Regions from separate parts of the Homo sapiens genome. Here region 1 is linked to region 2. The links are contacts of gene promoters, found by promoter capture Hi-C in blood cells and fetal thymus (Javierre and others, 2016). All regions are on one chromosome and are shown on one strand. Each heading gives the region's core, a stretch centred on a gene start or on the middle of the fragment in contact. The rest is flanking DNA. Distances are from core to core; before and after follow the strand shown. Region 1 holds the start of FOXM1 (forkhead box M1). Region 2 holds the start of DCP1B (decapping mRNA 1B).

What was found. The method cuts DNA at HindIII sites, captures the fragments that hold promoters and counts their contacts. A CHiCAGO score of 5 or more calls a contact.
Region 1: a contact is called between the fragment with the promoter of FOXM1 here and a fragment that was not itself captured in region 2, in 3 of 17 cell types (total CD8 T cells, fetal thymus and naive CD8 T cells). The highest score is 5.8, in total CD8 T cells.

What each region holds. Positions count from the first base shown.
Region 1 is chr12:2,874,555-2,879,519 of GRCh38, forward strand. FOXM1 (forkhead box M1) reads right to left here and starts at 2,620. Exons shown (of 9, transcript NM_021953.4): 1 at 2,366-2,620. RHNO1 (RAD9-HUS1-RAD1 interacting nuclear orphan 1) reads left to right here and starts at 2,669. Exons shown (of 3, transcript NM_001252499.3): 1 at 2,669-2,728. RefSeq lists silencers at 2,376-2,445, 2,486-2,925 and an enhancer at 4,509-4,965. The HindIII fragment of the contact is 3,757 bases long and covers 231-3,987 here.
Region 2 is chr12:2,004,294-2,009,435 of GRCh38, forward strand. It overlaps DCP1B (decapping mRNA 1B), which reads right to left and starts at 164. Exons shown (of 9, transcript NM_152640.5): 1 at 1-164. The coding sequence starts at 138. It also overlaps a transcript of CACNA1C not described here. RefSeq lists an enhancer at 210-439. The HindIII fragment of the contact is 629 bases long and covers 937-1,565 here.

The DNA of each region.
Region 1 (4,965 bases), core at 1,370-3,869, 870 kb after region 2:
AGAGATTGTTTAGGCTGAGAAGAGGTCCTTTTAGAGAAAGGTGCTCCTCTTTATATGACCAGGAACATGAGCCTAAAGGCCCAGGTAAACATTCCATGGACTTTTGTAAAGACCTCAGATAATAAGGAGATAAGCTTTACTGACAAAAGAAGGCTAAAATTACAGCAGACAGAAGCAATTCAAAGGGCAAAAATGGGACTGGGTTGGAGATAAGACAAAGATCTCCTTGAAGCTTCAGAATATTTGGCTACAGAAATGGATGGGATAGCTACAAATATGTGGAAATCTCTATAATTGCCTACTATAATATAAATAGATCACTTGCAATGACTGTATGGACAGAAATGGAAGATGCTAGAATAGGAAAGCATATGGTAATTAGGAGTCCTGATGAAACTCTGATCCCATAATCCATTCAAGACAAAGGATTTTAATTTTTTTTTTTTTTTTTTTTTTGAGACAGAGTCTCACTTTGTCACCCAGGCTGGAGTGCAGTGGCACGATCTCAGTTCACTGCAACCTCTGCCTCCTGGGTTTAAGCGAGTCCCACGTCTCAGCCTCCTGAGTAGCTGGGATTACAGGTGCCCACCACCACGCCCGGCTAGTTTTTGTATTTTTAGTAGAGACAGGGTTTCACCATGTTGCTCAGGCTGGTCTCAAACTCCTGACCTCAGGTCATCTGCCCGCCTCGGCCTCCCAAAGTGCTGGGATTACAGGCGTGAGCCACCGCGTCTGGCCAAGCCTTTTGATTTTTATATTACTTTGTAAATAGGACCAGTGCACACAGAATCAGGGAAGAAAGGCAGATTGTACTATTGCCACACTACTGGAAAAATCATCTCCCAGTTTACAAAACCTCACATAAAATGGAAACCTCTACTGAAGGCCCATGTAAAGTTGTGCAGCTTGTGCACTGAACAACTCTAGAGGGTGACATTTATTTCACAGGCTATTATACTTGCTCTAATTTAAAAAGCATGTTTTCTTTTACAATTTGTATTGTATTTATACAGTGGCATTTTAGTACTTGCATGTGGTTATATATATTTTAACTAAGCATGCCACTTTATTAATTTCTTTTCCAGAAATAAGACTATAACCCCTGTCTTCTTAGTACCACAATGAGCTATCATCATTACACTAAGGTGGTTCTGAAATGCTAACAGTGTAGTCTTTTTTTTTTAAGTCTTTTGTTGATTTTTTTTAATTTTTTTTTTTTTTTTGAGACGGAGCTTCGCTCTTGTCACCCAGGCTGGAGTGCAATGGCGCAATCTCAGCTCACTGCAACCTCGGCCTCCCGGGTTCAAGCGATTCTCCTGCCTCAGCCTCCCGAGTAGCTGCAATTACAGGCATGCACCACCATGCCCAGCTAATTTTTTTTTTTTTTTTTTAGTAGAAACAGGGTTTCACCATGTTTGCCAGGCTGGTCTTGAACTCCTCAGGTGATCCACCCGCCTCGGCCTCCCAAAGTGCTGGGATTACAGGCGTGAGCCACTGCGCCCGGCCTTTTGTTGATTTTAATAGATACATGGAATATTCTACCATTAAGCAAAATTGTGTAATTCTATTTCACGGAACTTTGGAAGACAGAGGAATTGGCTGTCTCTTTTTTAGGACACTTATTCTCTCCCTGAAAAGCAACTGCACTTTTTTGACATTTGTCATCTGCATAGAGTTCACAGGCCCTCCACACCTCTACCTTCAAATCTCAGTTTTACTTTCACCTCCGATCTTTCCAGGCTTCCCTCTCTCCCCGCATCAATCAGTAGATATTATTCCTCTTTTTCCACAGGATATCTAAGTCTTAATTTTCTCTTCTACTTCCTGACCAGCCCGTTATTATTATTGCCAACACTTTCTTGCCCGGGAAACTTCCAGAGTGGCTCCTCCGACCCATCCCCATCCTGAGCGGGGAAATCTTGCTACATTCTCAAGAACCAGGAAAAGGGCCCTGCAAAAGGGTAAGTAAGATGGAGGCGGTGTTGCCTAGTGGTGAGACAGCCTGGGAGCAGGGGAGTGTGTATGCAGGTTGGTCTTTGACTCAATGTAGTACAATCTCAGTCTTCATCTCAGCCACAGTCGGCCTAAGAAGGTAGGCCACCCCAGCCCTCCCGAGGCCGCGGGCAGGGTGCGGAGGTCAGACTTCCAGGGAAGGCCAAGGGGCGCTTTAAGCAGTGAGAAGGCCACGGCCAGGAGGTGGACGCAGAAAAAACTTGCACCCTGGCTCAGATTCTTCCCGTGTGACCCAAATCTCCACTCGTGGCCCGTGCCCTGCTGCTAGACGCCCTGACCTCCGCGCCCGGAGGCCTTGCTCCCCGCCTGTGCCCAGGCCAGGCCTGGGACTCCATTGCTGCATCCCGCTCACCTCCAGACTGCAGTCGCCGCCGCCGTTAGGCCGTAGCTCCGAAGGCGGGCTCCGGGCTCCTCCAACCTGGGGGCCGAGCCAGGGCCCCGGACGGGGGCTCGCGCCGGACCGGCCGGGTCCCCGGCGGTGCGGGCGGGGTGGGAACCCCGGGGGATCCCGGGAGGGGAGGGGGTCCCGGGCCGGGGCCGGGGGTGGGGTCTGGCACCGGAGCTTTCAGTTTGTTCCGCTGTTTGAAATTGGCGCCGGCGGAGCGTTAAGGTCACGTGACGGAACGTCGCCAATCGGCGCCGGCCTTGTCTCGGCATTCCGGGCTCGAAGGCTGTGCGGTCTGCCAGGAGCTGCGGCCCCGTCCGGCCCGGGCTGGTAAGGCGGACCGCAGGCCGGCTTGTGGGGGAAGAAGTGGCCGTGGGGCCGGGGAGGGGCCGGAGGGGTCCCCGCCGCGTGGGTGGGCGAGCCGAGGGAGAGTTTGGGGACGCGCGGAAGCGGCGTGACAGGCCCGGGTCCCTGGGCCCGCTTTTCCTGCCGCGCTGGTCACGCCAGGCGACACGCCCCCGCTTCCCCTCAGGCTCCTCTGCTCCCCTTTTCAAAGCTCGGCTTTAGTTGATTTCCTCACTGGGGGAAATCGTACCCCATTTTCCCACAGTGAACGATCGTCTGCTCCCCCCGATTAGACTAAGTTCCTTTGAGGGCTGCGTATTATCTCCGCTTTCTTCCATCTTGAAAAAAAATGTCGGCACCATGAACCCTACCTCAGCGCGAAACCTGTCTTTTGCCCCTCCCGAAGCCAAGCCTTCGGATATAATAGACCGTAGTGCTTTATTTATTGACTTAGTCAACCAGTCTAGTTGAGCAACTGCTGTGCGCCAGGCACCGCTAGGCCCTGAAGATACAATGGCAGACAAGGTTCTTTCCTTCCCCTGGGCTCACAGCCCAATCCTGGAAGAGGGGCACAGACATTTTAATCAAATAAACAAATGTGGGCTGGGCATAGTGGCTCACGCCTGTAATCCCAGCACTTTAGGAGGCCGAGGCGGGTGGATCACTTGAGGTCACGAGTTCGAGACCAGCCTGGCAACATAGCGAAACCGCTTCTCTACTAAAAATTAGCCGGGCGTGGTGGTGCGTGCCTGTAGTCCCAGCTACTCTGGAGGCTGAGGTGGAAGGATCACCTGAGGCCGAGAGGTGGAGGCTATGGTAAGCCATGATCACACCACTGCACTCCAGCCTGGGCGACAGAGGGAGACACCGTCTCCAAAACAAACAAATGTTGAATTATTGCTGTAAATTGAAACATTAGAGGTTAATGATACTTTGAGTATTTACAATAACGAGATCTTGAGAGGTAGGACAGGAAAGGCTTTTGTAATGAGAGCTTGGTGTGAGATCTGATGCCTTTTACAAAGAAAGGAGGGAACTCCTCTAAGCAGAGGGAATCAGGCGTGCAAAGGCTGGATGGCAGGAGGAAGCACAGTGAGTACAAAGGCTGAGAAATATCTGAGGGGTTTGAGCTAATCGACCTGAATGGAGTGTGGTGTGAGTTGAAGCTGGAGCCGGAGGAAGCAGAGCCTTAGCCATACCGAGAAGTTTTGTGCTTATCCAAGAATTAAAGGAAACCAGTCATAAGCTTTAAGCAGAAGTGAATCCAGGTCAGATTTGCATTTTAAAAGGTCCCTCTATAGCGGGGATTGCTAGAGTGGATTAGGGCAGAACAGTTGGATGTTGCAATACTCCAGGCAAGAACTGCTGGAGCTTGAAAAAGGGTGGCAGGGAGAGAGAGAGAGGAAGAGAAAGAAGGAGACAGAGAGAGTAAAAAAGGGGCATTAAGAAAACATGTTTAAGAGGTAAAGTTGACAGGGCTTGATGGTGGGTTGGATGGGAGGTAGAAGTGTCAAGATTTTCAGCTGCATAACTGAAGGAATAATGACACTATTCCCTGACCAAGGGCCCTGGAAGATAATCACTTTGGCCAAGGGACGGGCGGGGGGTTGTCAGGGGAATGATCGTGAATTCAGTTTTTGTTTTTTTACTACAAAGCAATGCTCAGAATGAGTTTTTTTTTTAATTATATATTTATTTTTATTTATCTTTTTATTTTTTAGAGACAGGGTCTTGCTCTGTCCCCCAGGCTGAAGTCCAGTGGCATGACCTTGGCTCACTACAACCTCAACCTCCTGGGCTCAGGTGATCCTCCCACCTCAGCCTCCTGAATGGCTGGGACCCCCTACAGGCACATGCCACTACACCCATCTAATTTTTGTATCTTTTGTAGAGACAGGGTCTCACTCTGTTGCCCAGATTGATCTTGAACTATTCGGTTCAAGTGATCCTCCCACCTTCACCTTTCACAGTGTTGGCATTACAGGCATGAGCCACTGTGCGCGGCCAAGTTCAGTTTTAAACTTGTTGAATTTTTTTTTCTTTTCTTTTTTTGAAACAAGGTTCTGGCTCTGTCACTCAGGCTGGAGTTCAGTGGCACGATCTCGGCTCACTGCAGCCTCCACCTCCTGGGCTCAAGTGATCTGCCCACCTCAGCCTCCTGAGTAGCTGGGACTACAGGTGCACGCAGCCGTGCCCACCTGATTTTTTGTATTTTTTGTAGA
Region 2 (5,142 bases), core at 1-2,500:
CCGATGGCCGAAGGTGTACAGAGCCACCTGGCTGGCCACGTCCACGATGCGGTTGATATAGGGGTCGTGGCGCTGCAGGGCCGCTAGGCTGATGTCGCGCCCCTTTCCCACCAGGCCGCCTGCCGCCACGGCTGCCATCTTCCCTCCCTCCCAGACATAGGCACGGGGCTCTTGGAAGCCACTCTCAATAGATCGCAGAACGAGCGAGCTGCCTCGCAACCGAGAACCCACGGCGACCACACGGCCCGGGAGGCCTTCCGGCTCCAGTCACCCCCACCCTCCTGCCCGCCGACAGACGCAAGGCCTCACTAATCGATGGCCGCGCCCCGCCCACTGAGGATCGTTGCCACTGGCAACGACAAGCCCAGGCCTGCCCTCTGCATCCCGTTTCTTTCTCCAAGAGCTGTTTTTCTACGCGCTCGAGCCTTTGAGCTGTGTGTGCGGTAGGATTTCCTTCTTGGATGTGTTCGACCCCTTGGCATATCTTTTCTTTGGCGCTTCAGTGATCAAATCTATCACAATAAATAAGCCTCGAGCATCAAGAACTCTGAAGAGAAAGAGAACTGAATTGATTTCTGAATGCGCTAACACCCAGTGGTTCTCAAAGTGTGGTGTGGTCCTGGAACCCTTTGGGAGTTTCTGAGACCCTTTCAGGGGATCTGCAAGGTCAAAAAAAAAACAAAACCTTTTATGACAATGCTGAGACTTACTTATTTGACTTGTTCACTGTGGTGACGTTTTGCAGACAATGGTGGTTAAAAGCGCCGGTGGTTTAACCCAATCAAGGCAGGGGCACCAAACTGTATTGCTAGTCAAAGTACGCGTCACTAATCTGCACTCTCAGTTACAAAAGAAAAAAAAAAAAAGAAGAAGGTAGAGAGCCAGTGTCACCTGATGGTGTTCTTGATAAGCAGTAAGAATTATTAATTTCATTGAAGCTTAATCCTTGGGTACAATTCTTTTTAACATTCTGCATGAAAAAATAGGAAATAGGCATAAAGCACGTCTGCTGCAAAATGAAGTGTGTCATATTTGTCTCTAGGAAAATACTTCTGTGCTTGAGTTGTAGGCCGAATTCATGTTTTTATTTTTATTTTCATAAAACATTTTTACTTGAAAGAAAGATGGGCAAACTATGATTATTCAAACAGGTACTTGACAGACATTTTTCTGAAAATAAATAAAGTGTGCCTGTCACTTTCAGGAAAACAAGGGACAATTACTGCTGCCAATGATAATTTTTAAGCCTTCAAGCCAGAATTAAAAGTTTAGAAAATGTGTATCTACTGCCATGAGCTTGACATCTCAGTACTTAATGTTTTTTTTTCTGATGAGATCAGTGATGATATTAATGAGCGCAATTTTAACAAATCTTGTATAATGGAAAGTGTCAATATCTCAAAGATCTGCTTAACTCAGTGGTCCAGTATTTTCCAAAAGACCAATGTCTCATGCTACATAATCATGCACAGGCAAAAGATCCATTCAAGGACAAGGTGGACTAATGGATTTTTAATGTAACAGTATGAAAAGTTAATAGGATTTCAGATAGTACATTGCAGCTAAGCTTTGAGAAACTCCAGCTTGTCAAGTTTTGGTATATTATCCAAGAAGAATATCCACAATTGTCTGAAAAACTCTATTAAAATATCCATCTCTTTTCCAACTACATTATCTACATATGAGGCCAGAGTTTCTTCATATACTCCAAACAAAACACACATAGCCCGGGGTCTTTAAAGTTATTTTTAATTTCCAATATGGTAAATATAGGTGGGTATAACTCACATAAACAAAAGTTCTCTGAGGGAGTCCTTAATAATTTTTAAGAGTGGGCCAGGTGCGGTGGCTCCTGCCTGTAATCCCAGCACTTTGGGAGGCTGAGGCGGGCGGATCACAAGGTCAGTAGTTCAAGACCAGCCTGGCCAACATGGTGAAACCCCGTCTCTACTAAAAATACAAAAATTAGCCAGGAGTGGTGGCAGGTACCTGTAATCCCGGATACTCGGGAGGCTGAGGCAGGAGAATCGCTTGAACCCGGGAGGCAGAGGTTGCAGTGAGCCGAGATCCTGCCACTGCACTCCAGCCTGGGTGATAGAGCGAGACTCCATCTCAAAAATAAAATAAATAAAAAGTAATTAAAAAAATAATTTTTAAGAGTGTAAAGGAGTCTTGAGACTAAAAAGTTGAGAATGGTTGATCTAAACCATTTATCTAGCATTAAATATTAGAACAACTGTGCAGACATTACTACTCACATTCATAAATTCTTACCTATTTGATATAGAAATATCATAGATACGGCACACATACCCTCTCATAATAATATGTTGCAATATAATCTTTGCAGTCACAATTTCAATTGTACTGAAATTCTTGGTTAAGCTGCATTTTGGAGTCTCAGTCCTATTGACTCCCAAGCCTAACTTCCCAGTGGGGAAGAATACAGCAATGGCTTTCAAACAACTTTTTTTTGACTGAGGCTGGGGTCATTTGCAGTCTGACTGAGAACATATGTTTATATATTTATACCTGATATTAACTAGAATAAATGTTTCAATACTAAGTATACAGACATTTTTTAAAATGCTATTTGTGACTTTGTAAATTGGTTTCATGACCAACTAATGGATTGTGACCTGTAGTTTGAAAAACATAGGGCTGCAGCAACTGAGCAACCACACAAAGCTGACTAGACAACTTTCCATGTTAGTTCACTACCTTTTTCCAGTGTTACTGACCTCTTTGCTCTTAATCACATATGTGCTTCTAAAAACAAGTTTAATCTGTAATATGGGCAATGGAGAATTTTGTGATTAATTCTTGAACTAGTCACACTCTCTCACTTGATTAGCTGTTCTAATTTTGATTTTTCAGCATGAACCCACAGATTCTACTTTGCATTTCCCTCGTACATATAATGAGGCATTGTTTTTCTTTTGTCTGTTAAGTTCCATGATCCTTACACAGATCATTGTCCTCATAATTTTTCAGTCTTTCCATCTTTAAAGTGTAAAGAATAGATCATGGCCTCCAAAGAACGAATTGCTTTGAGCTCATTAGAGAAGACAGGCAATATAGGGGCCATTGTAAAAGCTTAAATGTTCATAAAACAAAAGTGTATACAAGTCTTAGTGATCTGTATGACTACAATTGCAAAGCATTTATGGAGTGCTCACTTGATGAAATTCATTAATTCTTCATGATTTATTATTGCTTCTTGTGTCTGTGCTGAAATTACATGGTCATGTCTTCTCCAGTCTTTGATCTCACTGATGAGTAAGATGAAGATACCCTTACTTTGCTTACGGGGAAAATTTCACATATGTGAACAACATGCTAATATGACCCTTAGTAGAGAAGAGTTAATTTTTTGTGTGTTTAGAGTTAATGAAACAACCCATCTTCTGTTCTAACCTCCTTGTATCTGAACTCTTTTCTCCCAAGTATCTTACACATTCCTATCTCTGTACCTTTGCCCATCTGTCTTCTTAGCTTGGAATGACCTTTTCCTGGAAAACTCACCTCCTGTCTTCTCCCATACAATCCTTTCAGCCTATGAATCCTCATTGCATTCTGTTGCGATTTTTCTTGTGGCACTTAGCTCACTTTATCCTGACTTAGACTTATTTATTTACTACGTTACATATACATTTTTTTCCAATTCTAAAAAAAAACAGTCATTGTAATAAAAGAGAATTGTTATAGAAAATCTAGCCTGAAAACATTATTGCAATTGAACAAGAAATTGGGCTTTGAGTTTCTTGACAGATAAGCAAAAAGGAGGAAATAGTATGTTTCATAAAGTTTTACTTATTTATTTATTTATTTATTTATTTTTTGAGACAGGGTCTTTCTCTGTCGCTCAGGCTGGAGTGCAGTGGCACAATCACAGCTCACTGCAGACTTGACCTCCTGGGTTCAAGCACTCCTCCCACCCCAGCCTCCCAGGTAGCTGGGACCACAGGCTGGTGCCACCATGCCCGGCCAATGTTTTTTATATTTTGTAGTGATGGGGTCTCACTACGTTGCTCAGGATGGAGATGTTATTTTTCATGTTTTGTAGTGATGGGGTCTCACTATGTTGCTCAGGATGGAGATGTTACTTTTTATGTTTTGTAGTGATGGGGTCTCACTACGTTGCTCAGGATGGAGATGTTATTTTTTATGTGCTTATCACCACGTAGTCTCCCTAGCACTTGGTCCAATGCCTTGTACATAATAGAGATTCAATAAATGCTTATTCTTTTGAACTAAACCCTGAGTTAGTTGAATTTACTCATTAAATGTCAGCATTTTTTAAAGAGCTCATGATTTATAAAATAATGAAATCCAAGTTGGGATAAAAAAACGTGCAATAGCAAGTCCTGTTCTCTCAGATTTTATATTCTAAGGGAGATAGAAAAACATGGAAAGGTTTTTGGTTTTTTAACTTTCAAACAAAAAACTCTTGAAGATTAGAAATCATACTCAGAGAAAAAAGATAAATAATGTTGCAATGACTTCAGCATTGCCATATTGTTCATCTCCCTGGCCCACAGAGATTTATTTATTTTTTATTCTTTTTTCCTCCCCACAAAGGCCTAAAGCTCTGACCTTCTAGGATGACGCCAGCCTTCTGCCTTCTTTCTATTTGAATAATCTGTGTTTGTAAAACCAGGTCATCATCACTTAACCAAATATACTAAGTTGCAGGCTCGATATTAGTAAAAGACCATTTCGAATAGGCAAATTCTTTTTTAATCCGTGTAACTTCCATTTCTGTTGGCGCCCAGAGTGCTGGCGTACTTCCACTGTGTTTCCATAAGCCTCATGATGATACCTTGGACAAATATTGGTGACTTCGAGTTTCATGATTATATTATAATTGTCATTATGAGATTAAACATATGCTCACACTTGGTTTTACAAAGTTGGATACTGCAATTTAAAACAAGTTTGTAGAATGATAAAAAAATAATGTTTGGGTCTGGAATTTTTATACCATGGCAATGACTGAGTAAGACAAAATTCAGCATCTAATCAATTAAGGTAATTGTAAGAAGACAGTATGTTTAGATTCTTTGAAAATCAGAATATAACTGAAAACTGGTTTTGTAGGCATGAATGAATGTTTGCATACAAATATAGATTGACTATATC